Linked DNA regions of Homo sapiens: regions 2 and 3 are each linked to region 1. The links are contacts of gene promoters, found by promoter capture Hi-C in blood cells and fetal thymus (Javierre and others, 2016). All regions are on one chromosome and are shown on one strand. Each heading gives the region's core, a stretch centred on a gene start or on the middle of the fragment in contact. The rest is flanking DNA. Distances are from core to core; before and after follow the strand shown.

The links. The method cuts DNA at HindIII sites, captures the fragments that hold promoters and counts their contacts. A CHiCAGO score of 5 or more calls a contact.
Region 2: a contact is called between a fragment that was not itself captured here and the fragment with the promoter of ANKS3 in region 1, in 2 of 17 cell types (megakaryocytes and M1 macrophages). The highest score is 5.6, in megakaryocytes.
Region 3: a fragment that was not itself captured here is called in contact with the fragment with the promoter of ANKS3 in region 1 in 1 of 17 cell types (M1 macrophages); the score reaches 5.4 in M1 macrophages.

Annotation. Positions count from the first base shown.
Region 1 is chr16:4,732,599-4,736,144 of GRCh38, reverse strand. ANKS3 (ankyrin repeat and sterile alpha motif domain containing 3) reads left to right here and starts at 1,874. Exons shown (of 18, transcript NM_133450.4): 1 at 1,874-2,207. It overlaps DNAAF8 (dynein axonemal assembly factor 8), which reads right to left and starts at 1,608. Exons shown (of 10, transcript NM_139170.3): 1 at 1,447-1,608. RefSeq lists silencers at 1,749-1,978, 2,029-2,088. The HindIII fragment of the contact is 25,292 bases long and covers 1-3,546 here.
Region 2 is chr16:4,834,136-4,837,681 of GRCh38, reverse strand. All of the region lies in intron 3 of GLYR1 (glyoxylate reductase 1 homolog), which reads left to right. Among named protein-coding and RNA genes, the nearest start is that of GLYR1, 11 kb to the left of the region's middle. The HindIII fragment of the contact is 1,433 bases long and covers 1,221-2,653 here.
Region 3 is chr16:4,816,735-4,820,280 of GRCh38, reverse strand. It overlaps GLYR1 (glyoxylate reductase 1 homolog), which reads left to right. Exons shown (of 16, transcript NM_032569.4): 10 at 2,584-2,683. Among named protein-coding and RNA genes, the nearest start is that of ROGDI, 16 kb to the right of the region's middle. The HindIII fragment of the contact is 2,515 bases long and covers 283-2,797 here.

The DNA.
Region 1 (3,546 bases), core at 625-3,124:
TACGATATATAATGATATATAGGTATATTTTATATATACCCCATATAGCATAACTATTCTCTTCATTTCATAGGCTCAGGGTGTTTAGTAAATAGCAACAGTGGACTCTGAATCAGGGGGAATTTCAAGTCCTACTACCCTTTACTGCCCTTTACCAAGGAACAGAAGACACCTTGCTTTTTTGTTTTGGAGACAGGGTCTGGCTTTGTCGCCCAGGCTAGAGTGCAGTGGTACAATGATAGCTCACTGAAGCCTCGGCCTCCTGAGCTCAAGTGATCCTCCCACCTCAGCCTCCTGAATAACTGGGACTACAGGTGTGTACCACCACATCTGGCTAACATTTTTATTTTTTGTAGAGATGGAGTCTCCCTGTTGCCCAGGCTGGTCTCAAACTCCTGGCCTCAAGTGATCCTCTTGCCTCAGCCTCCCAAAGTGCTGGGATTACAGGCATGTGCCATCGCGCCTGGCTGACAGTTTGGAGTCACTAAGTGATTTTTTTTTTTTTTTGGAGTCACTACTCTGACCAGCCCCTGCATTTATATCTTAGAGTCTTAAAGGAGATGGTCCTGTTATTCAGGGGGCTGGGGAGCTTGAGCTTGAGAGCTGGGGGGTGAGGGTCCTCTAGAGCCAGTGTCAGGAGAACTCTGCAGCTCGAGAGGCCGCTGTGGCTTTGGCCCTGCAGTCAGTGCCCGTTCATCCCCAATCAGGGCAGCGGCAGGAGATGTGAATTGGGGGCTGCTTGCTTCCTCTGTACTTCTGGGAATAGGGCAGGTGCTTGGTGCACTCTGAACTGGGAGCAGCGGGTTGGGGACGCATCTGGTGCACACAGCCAGCGGGTGTTTTTTGTAACTAGAGCTCTGTTCCGCAATTCAGGGCACAGTATTTCTTAGGGCAACAGAATCGTCGGGATGAAGAGGGCCTCCAGAGACTCTGATAAACCCTTCAGGCGGACAAGACAATAGGGGAGGGAACGGCATTACCGGCAGAAGGAAGAGCATGTACAGTAGCTCAAAGGAATGAACCGCCCAACAGGTTTAAGGGAAGAAAGTGTCAGTTGCTGGACTCTCCGGTGAAAACGGACCAGACAATGCAGGGCCCTGAACGCCAAGTTGAGGAGCTCAGAGCATCCAGAAGGCGAAGGGGAGGCTCGGAGCCGCCTCTGAATAACGGCCTTCCGGCTCCGTCTCGGGGTGGGTTTCTCAGCTGCAGCCTGTTAGCCCCGCCACAGCCCCGCCCCGGTTCTCAGAGCCCCGCCCCCAGCCGGCCTGCCACGAGGCTGCCGGTTGTTATGGCAACCAGACGCCAACAGCCTCCCGGGTCGAGCTTTTAAATTTTAAAGCTGTGGAAGTGGAAAGCCCATCGCTCCTCCTCTCACCCACCCCCAGCCCGTATTTCCCCGCGTTTTGTTCAACTCCCTGCAGGCGCAGCAGGCCCGAGGCCCCTCACCTCAGGCCTCTGCCTCCACTCCCCGCGCTGTCCTGACAGCGCTATAAACAGCCTCCAGCGCGTCACTCCGCTCGCGTCCGCCCCTCGGGCCGCGCCGCAGGTACAGAGGCTGTCCCCTTCTTCAGCACTCTCCCTCTCAGCGGAGCTTTACATTACTAGACTGCCTCCGCCTTCCCCCCACCCCGCCCAGCTCCTCTTTCGGGCCTTTGCGCGTCCTGCCTCTCCTGCAATGGGATTGGTTCCCCTGGAGGGCGGGGACGGAGCAGGACAAACACCACTAGCTCATTGGCTACCGCGGGCATCAGACAGCGAGCCGGGAAGCTGACCGGAAGGTCCGGGTGCGGGACGTGTGCATTCCACGGCGCCCGGGAGCTGTCCCGGTGCCGACCCGCGAGCTTCCCGGCGTGCTCCGCGCCCTCCCGCAACTACTTCCGGGGCGGGTGCCGGGGGCGGTGCCCCGGCGAGGGAGCGTGGCGGCGAGCTGTTTGGGGGGGGTTGGCGACGGCAGCCCGAGGGCGGCGCAAGGCCTGAGGCCCAGCACAGGTGGGTTCCGCGGCGGCCCGGCCCCAGCACTTGCCGGCACCTGCAGCCCGCCTAGACCCGGCGCTCGGGCGTCCCGCGCTGCACTTGCTCGCCGCGTGACTGGAGGACCGAGCCCCCACATTTTCTTTATGTGGTTGTGGTGGGGGCACAGTAATGCCCTGTGCGCCGTAGCGTTCCTGTGGGGATGTGGCCGGGGGGCGTCGGGAAGCGTCACTGCTGTGAGTTACGGGTTTGTCGGCCAGGGACCCGCCCCGGGGCCAGTGAGCTACCTTTGCGATGCGGTTCCACGGGGCGAGAGGGGGTGCCTGGGTGCTTTCACAGACCTCCTCTGTGGGCGTGACAGTTACCACCAGCATCACATTTGTTAAGATTTTTAAAAATTTTTTAATTTTTGTGGGTACGTAGTAGGTGTATATATTTATGGCGTATATGAGAGATTTTGATACAGGCATGCAGTTCGTAATAATCACATGTAAAATGGGGGTCTCCATCCCTTCAAGCATTTATCCTTTGTGTTACAAACAATATGATTATACTCTTTGAATTATTTTTAAATGTGCAGCCGGGCGCGGTGGCTCACTCACGCCTGTAATCCTAGCACTTTGGGAGGCAAAGGCGGGCGGATCACCTGAAGTCAAGGATTTGAGACCAGCCTGGCCAACATGGGGACACTTCGTCTCTACTAAACATACGAAAACTAGGCTGGCATGGTGGCTCATACCTGTAATCTCAGCTACTCGGGAAGCTGAGGCAGGAGAATCGCTTGAACCCAGGAGGCGGAGGTTGCATTGAGCCGAGATCACGCCGCTGCACTCTAGCCTGGGTAACAGAGTGAGATTATGTCTCAAAAAAAATAATAATAAATAAATAAAATGTGCAATTAGATTATATTGACTATAGTCACCCTGTTGTGCGGTCAAATACTAGATCTTTTTTTTTTTTTTTTTTTTTTTGAGACGGAGTCTCGCTTTGTCGCCCAGGCTGGAGTGCAGTGGCTTGATCAAATACTAGATCTTATTCATTCTGTTTTTTTTGTATCCATTAAGCATCCCCACCCTCCACTACCCTTCCCAGCCTTGGTTACACTAGAAGTAACCATCCTTCTACTTTCTATGTCCATGAGTTCAGTTGTTTTGATTTTTAGATAACCACAAATAATTGAGAACATGCAATATTTATCTTTCTGTGCCTGGCTTATTTCACTAAACATAACGATCTCCGCTTCCATCCATGTTTTTGCAAATGATAGGATCTCATTCTTTTTTTATGGCTGAATAGTACTCCATTGTGTCTAAGTACCACATTTTCTTTAGGATTCACTGTAAAGGTAACAGATACTTAGCATTTTCAGAATGGACAGAACCAAAAAGTTGAATGAAAACTAAAACGTCTTATCTCTAATGCTACTTTACACCACACCACTCGGGATGGGACATTTTAGTTTTCACTTTAGTGTTTTTTTTTTGTTTTTTTTTTTGAGACAGAATTTCGCTCTGTTGCCCAGGCTGGAGTGCAGTGGCTTGAGCTCGGCTCACTGCAATCGCCTCCCAGGCTCAA
Region 2 (3,546 bases), core at 688-3,187, 100 kb before region 1:
TACCGTGCCGGCTTGTTCTCACCTTTATACTCTATGCTTGTGTGTGTGTGCTTTTTCTCTGTCTGTCTCCCTCCCCCTGCCATCTTCTCCCCGTCCTTTCTCCTTTTCTCTTTCTCTTAGCTTCACGGCTTCACCCCGGGTCACCTGTCTATGTGAAGGCTGAAACACATGTGACAGCGTTCAAGATTAGTCATAGGCTGACATCTTTAATATACAGTATCTACATGTATGATTTTCTTTTTTTTTTTTTAAAGACCAAGTCTTGCTCTGTCGCCCATGCTGGAGTGCAGTAGCACGATCTGCACTCACTACAACCTCCACCTCCCGGGTTCAAGCAGTTCCTGCCGCAGCCTCCTAAGTAGCTGGGATTACAGACGTGTGCTACCACAACTGGCTAATTTTTGTGTTTTCTGGTAGAGATGGGGTTTCGCCATGTTGGCCAGGCTGGTGTCGAATTCCTGGCCTCAATCCACCTGCCTCGGTCTCCCAAGGTGCTGGGATTCAGGCATGAGCCACCGCACCGGGCCCTACATGTATGATTTTCATTTAAGAGGAAAGCAAATCAGAAGTGTGCAAGTTTTTGAAAATACCAGATTTTAATTCATTTTGATTGGAGTAATCTGAGAGTGCCTTAGTGGCGGTTCTGTATTCATAGATGAAGAGACTTTTTATAGGAAGAGTGTCAGGTCACCAGGGTAAATTGGCTGTGTTACAGGTGCAGTTATGCCAGCAGCCAGGCAGCAGCAACCCACCAGAGCAAACCTGCAAACCAGGAAGTCATGGAGGAAACCCTCTGGGCAGTCGGCATAGCCTGTGTTCTAGGGCAGAGGCCTTTAGTATTGATTTGTTTTGTTTTTTTTTTTTTTTTCCAATATAATATGTGTTCACCATTCAAAAACAAAAACTTGTCAACATTGAAACAGTTGCATTCATCCCCATCCCACAGCCACCCAGTTAGACCAGTTTCTGATGATGTGTCCCTCCAGAGATATCAGTGCGTGGTCAGTCCATTTTCCTTGTCTTTGCACGAGTGGTAGCACATAACATGCATTGCTTTTTATCTTGCTCATCTCCACGTAGCCAGATATCTTACGAGACATCCGCTTTCCTTCTCTGTAATGACCTTGCCTGTTTTCAGCTATTTACTATCACAATGTGTCATTCATTCTACTGTACATAAAAAGCAAAGTCTCCTACTTTAAATACAGCTTGAATAAGCTTGATTTTTCTGACTTCCCAGCCACAATTGGGCTGAAAGATATAGCTCCATCTAAGTCTTGGGAGGATGATAGGAAAATCAAAAGTTACAGCTTCTATCAAGGAAAGAAACAGTCACTTAAAAAACCAACAGTAGCAACAACAAAAACACTAAAGCCTTACGCACTGGAGCATTGTAGCACCTTTTAACTCACTGGTGAGCAGTACATCCTCCTGAACATCTGGGAAGGAATCATTTACCCAGTGATTATTTATTGAGGACCAGTGGTGTGCCAGGCCCGGCTGATGTGCCTCCGTGAATTAGACAGTGGTGCATTGTTGAGGCGCCAACTGAAAAGCATATTCTCATTAAAAAGACAGAGGTAGGCCAGTTGCAGTGGCTCATACCTGTAATCCCAGCACTTTGGGTGGCTGAAGTGGGCAGATTACTTGAGTTCAGGAGTTCGAGACCAACCTGGGCAACATGGTGAACCCCATCTCTATAAAAAATAAATTTAAAAAAGATGAAAGAAGTGTAACCTTTAGAGAAAAAATTGTATTCAGATAGCCAAAGTGATTTAAGTTTGGTTTGCTTTCAAGAGGTAATCCCCATAGAGCTCTGGTAAGCTGGGTTTTTTTGTTGTTACTGTTTTTGAGGTGGAGTCTCACTCTGTTGCCCAGGCTGGAGTGCAGTGGCACAATACTGGCTCACTGCAACCTCCGCCTCCTGGGTTCAAGTGTTTCTCCTGTCTCAGCCTTCCGAGTAGCTGGGATTACAGCTGCGTGCCACTACACCCAGCTAATTTTTATATTTTCAGTAGAGACGAGATTTCACCATGTTGGCCAGGCTGGTCTCAAACTCCTAACCTCAGGTGATCTGCCTGCCTCGGCCTCCCAAAGTGCTAGGATTACAGGTGTGAGCCACCGTGCCCAGCCAAGCTGGTTTTTTATGGCTGTTTTTTGATGTAACAGGATGCTTCTCCAGCAATAAGTTGATTCCTTAAATAGATTAACATTTCTTGGATTTACCATCCTATTCATACTGTCAGTTCATTTAGCCATTTTAATGTTTCGAAGATGGTTGTAAAGAGGAAAATTTTAGTATCTCAAATGCTTTAAAGTGAGTGGAATTTTGACTGTACAGTTCCTTCTAGCAGAAATCAGTAAACCTTGTAAGATGCTTCAACAAAAAATGGGGTTGATTCCTTGGCACTTCACAGACATCCTCACCTTTCTGTTCCCTCAGAATCGGGTTCCTGTGAGGCTGGGTAGTGGGAGGCAGGGATGGAGGTAGCAGGATGGCGTGGGTGGGATTAGCAAGTCTCGGAGTCTGTTGTCCCATCTCAAGGGGTTCCATAAAAATCACCTTTTTGGTCCTATATTGGGAACTTGTGTGGTTCTCAGCTTCTGACCAGAAGCTCCTAGGAAGAACTGGCTGGTCACGACTCCTTAAGCTTCATCCTTGATACTGGTTGTGTCATCTCAGACCCACGGGTTAGTATGGTAGCTTCACTGGCTTTTGGGGCTGGGTCTGACTTTGCATCTGATTGCTCTGGCCTGTCATTAGCATCCCTGTAAGGAGAGGGAACGGAGTCAGTTCAGGGATATTCTTGCCAGAAAATCTGGGGTCGAAATCTCCTTCCACTTTTCCTCCCAGCAGATTGGACTCATTGGCGCTCTCATGTTGAATTTCAAACTTTAAGATGAGTTGGTCACTGGAAAGGAGTTTGCTGGCTCACACCTGTAATCCCAGCACTTTGGGAGGCCAAGGCAGGTGGATCACTGGAGGCCAGAAGTTCAAGACCAGCCTGGCCAACACAGGGAAACCCCGTCTCTACTAGAAACATAAAAATTAGCTGGGTGTGGTGGTGCATACCTGTAGTCCCAGCAACTCGGGAGATAGAGGCAGAATTGCTTGAACCTGGGAGGTGGAGGCGGAGGTCGCAGTTAGCTAAGATCGTGCCACTGCACTTCATCCTAGGTGACAAAATGAGACTCTGTCTCAAAAAGGAAAAAAAAAAGGCCAGGTGTGGTGGCTCACGCCTGTAATCCCAGCACTTGGGAGGCTGAGGCAGGAGAATCACTTGAACCTAGGAGGCGAGGTTGCCGTGAGCCAACATCGCCCCATTGCACTCCAGCCTGGGCAACAAGAGTGAAACTCCGTCTCAAAAAAAAAAAAAAAAAAAAAAGGAATTTGCCTAACTCCTCTAGTTGGAGCTGTGCCAGGGAGACCAGCTTCTGTATCTCCATTCATCATCTCACTTAGCCATGGTGGCATGCCTGATAGTGGTTCGCTGCCTGACATCTGCAGGCCGATGATCCCAGGTCTGTGTTTTTGCACAGACCCCA
Region 3 (3,546 bases), core at 291-2,790, 84 kb before region 1:
ATGGTGGCTCATGGCTGTTATCCCAGCACTTTGGGAGGCCAAGGTGGGCGGATTACCTGAGGTCAGGAGTTCAAGACCAGCCTGGCCAACATGGTGAAACCCTGTCTCTACAAAAATTAGCCAGGCATGATGGTGGGTGCCTTTAATCCCAGCTACTTGGGAGGCTGAGGTGGGAGAATCGCTTGAACCCGGGAGGTGGAGGTTGCAGTGAGCCAAGATCGCACCACTGCACTCCAGCCTGGGCAACAGAACGAGACTGTGTCTCAAAAAAATCCAGAAGCTTTATCCCAGGTCTACTGGACTTCCTAGAACACCAAGAAAGGAAAGGGAATTCGCCTGTCATGATTTAGAATCATGGGGGAATATTGTACTACCCAAATAATGAGTGACAAAAAGGTACCTCCTTGTTTTTAAGCCACAACTTGAAGCAGTTAGCAAGGAGGTCTATTTTGGTGAGAAAGTTGGTGGGTTCCATTTTCAACATGTGATTCAAATTACTTAATACAGGCTGGGACAGGGAGAATGTGAGCAGCTGATATTCCAGCTGAGATTAGGGGTCCATTTGTAGAGATGGTTCCAGAAGACCAAAACTATGGAAAGAATGACAGGGTCAAAGTGGAGGAGCTGCCGGGGACATCCAGCAGTCAGAGAATTTCTGAATTGAAAACATGGCCAAGCGCAGTAGCTCATCCTTGTAATCCCCACACTTTGGGAGACCAAAGCAGAAGGATCCCTTGAGGCCAGGAGTTCATGACCAGCCTAGGAAATACAGCAAGACCCCGTCTCTACAAAAAAATTTTAAAACTTAGCCAGACATGGTGGCATGCACCTATAGTCCTAGCTGCTCAGGTGGACTGAGGTGGAAGGATCACTTGAGCCCAGGAGTTTGAGGCTGCGGTGAGCTATGATCACCCCCCTGCACTCCAGCCTGGGAGACAGCATAATGCTGTCACTAAAAAAAGAAAAAAGGCTGGGTGCAGTGGCTCACGCCCATAATCCTAACACTTTGGGAGGCTGAGGTGAGAGGATTGCCTGATACCAAAAGTTCGAGACCAGCCTAGCCAACATAGCAAGACCCCCCCATCTCTCTTTTTAAATAAATAAATAAATAAAAATTAAAAACTATAAAAACAAGAACATGATATGATCAGAAATGAGGAAAGGCATTCTTTTGCACCATTGTCACTTGCAAAGAGAGGTGAAGAAGTACAAGAATCAAGAAAAGACACTTTGGCAAGCTAAAAGTCATCCGTAAAAGCATGTTGAAATAGCAGCAGTGGCATCCAGCCCCCAGCTCTCAGGGTTGCAGGAAGGAGCAGGCGGAGTATGTGAATGTGTGTGGAGGAGACTGGCCAATGAGTGCTTCTGTCACAAGGATTGGGAAGGACCTGTGGAAGGAAGGGCTGGGGGAACAGTGAGAGGTTTGGGGGAAGGCAGGCATGGGGAGAAGGATTTGTGGACTGGGAAAGATTGGGTTCCAAGCTCAGGTGAAGGACTTAGCTTTGGAGAGGAGAGGCAAGGCCCATTCTGTTGATAACGGGAAGACGGGAAAGGTAGGGTGTGGGTAGAGAATTGAAGTTGGGAAAGAGAGGTGAAAATTGCCGTCCTGGTTCATGCAGTCAAGGAAGTTGCCTGGCTCTAAACACAGTGCTTCAGTGACTTGTGGTGGATTCTGTTGGGCTTTAAAGTAGTATCCAGAGCCGGGTGCAGTGGTTCACACCTGCAACCCCAGCACTTTGGGAGGCTGAGGTGGGCGGATCCCTTAAGCCCAGGAGTCCAAGACCAGCCTGGGTAACATGGCAAAAGCCCATCTCCACAAAAAATTAGGTGTGCTGACAGATGCCTGTAGTCTCAGCTACCCAGGAGGCTGAGGGGGAAGGATTACTTGAGCCCAGGAGGTCGAGGCTGCAGTGAGCCATGATTGCACCACTACACTGCAGCCTGGGCAACAGAACAAGACACTATCTCAAAAAATAAGTAAAGTGTGAGGCCGGGCATGGTGGCTCACGCCTGTAATCCGAGCACTTTGGGAGGCCGAGGTGGGCAGATCACGAGGTCAGGAGTTTGAGACCAGCCTGGCCAACATGGTGAAACCCTGTCTCTACTAAAAATACAAAAATTAGCTGGGCATGGTGGCGTGCGCCTGTAATCCCAGCTACTCAGAAAGCTGAGGCAGGAGAATCGCTTGAACCCAGGATGCAGAGGTTGCAGTGAGCTGAGCTCGCGCCATTGCACTCCAGCCTGGAACAGAGCAAGACTGTCTCAAAAAAAAAAAAAAGGGCAGCAAGGGGACTTTGCCCTGGGAGACTGGCCCTGAACCATACACATCATACTTTTTTCTGTGACAGTCAGGGGTTTCAAAATGCCTGTTTACATCCTGGGACAGCTTTAGACCATGGCATAAGAGAAGACCCATGTGCATGACGCCCCTGGCTCTGCAGGTAGATTGGCCACTGCTGTTTCTGGCAGTCTGAATTCCCCTACCCCAAGCTGTATAAGGGAGCGAGCCTTGTGCTGCATGGAATCATCATCACCGTGACCCTCCCTTTCCACCCTGAACTCATCAGTCTCTCTCTGTTTCAGGATAGGATTTTTGGGCCTTGGTCTCATGGGAAGTGGAATCGTCTCCAACTTGCTAAAAATGGGTCACACAGTGACTGTCTGGAACCGCACTGCAGAGAAAGTAAGCATTCAGGGGTGGTGCCTGTTGGATCGGTGGAGTCTGGGGTAACCCTAAGAGTGGACATCTCCCCCTGTTGTCTCAGCGTTCTGCGTGCAATAGAATAGAAGCCAAGCTTTTAGTCCAGGCAGGTAGAGATGTAGATGCCTAAACTTAGGATGTTATTATAAAACCTAAACATTTGCCTGGCGCGGTGGCTCACTCCTGTAATCCCAGCACTTTGGGAGGCTGAGGCGGGCGGATCATGAGGTCAGGAGATCGAGACCATCCTGGCTAACACGGTGAAACCCCGTCTCTACTTAAAATACAAAAAATTAGCCGGGCGTGGTGGCGGGCACCTGTAGTCCCAGCTGCTCCAGAGGCTGAGGCAGGAGAATGGCATGAACCCGGGAGGCAGAGCTTGCAGTGAGCCGAGATCGCGCCACTGCACTCCAGCCTGGGCGACAGAGCAAGACTCCGTCTCAAAAAAAAAAAATAGAAAATACAAAAATTAGCTGGGTATGGTGGCGTTCACCTGTAGTCTCAGTTACTCAGGAGGCTGAGGCAGGAGAATAACTTGAATGTGGGAGGCAGAGGTTGCAGTGAGCTGAGATCGTGTCACTGCACTCCAGCCTGGCAACAGAACAAGACTCCGTCTCAAAAAAAAAAAAAAATGGCACAATCTCGGCTCACTGCAACCTCCACCTCCCAGGTTCAAGTGATTCTCCTGCCTCAGACTCCCAAGTAGCTGGGATTACAGGCGCGCGCCACCACACCTGGCTAATTTTTTGTATTTTTAGTAGAGAAGGGGTTTCACCATGTTAGCCAGGCTGGTCTCGAACTTCTGACCTCAGGTGATCCACCCGCCTTGGCCTCCCAAAATACTG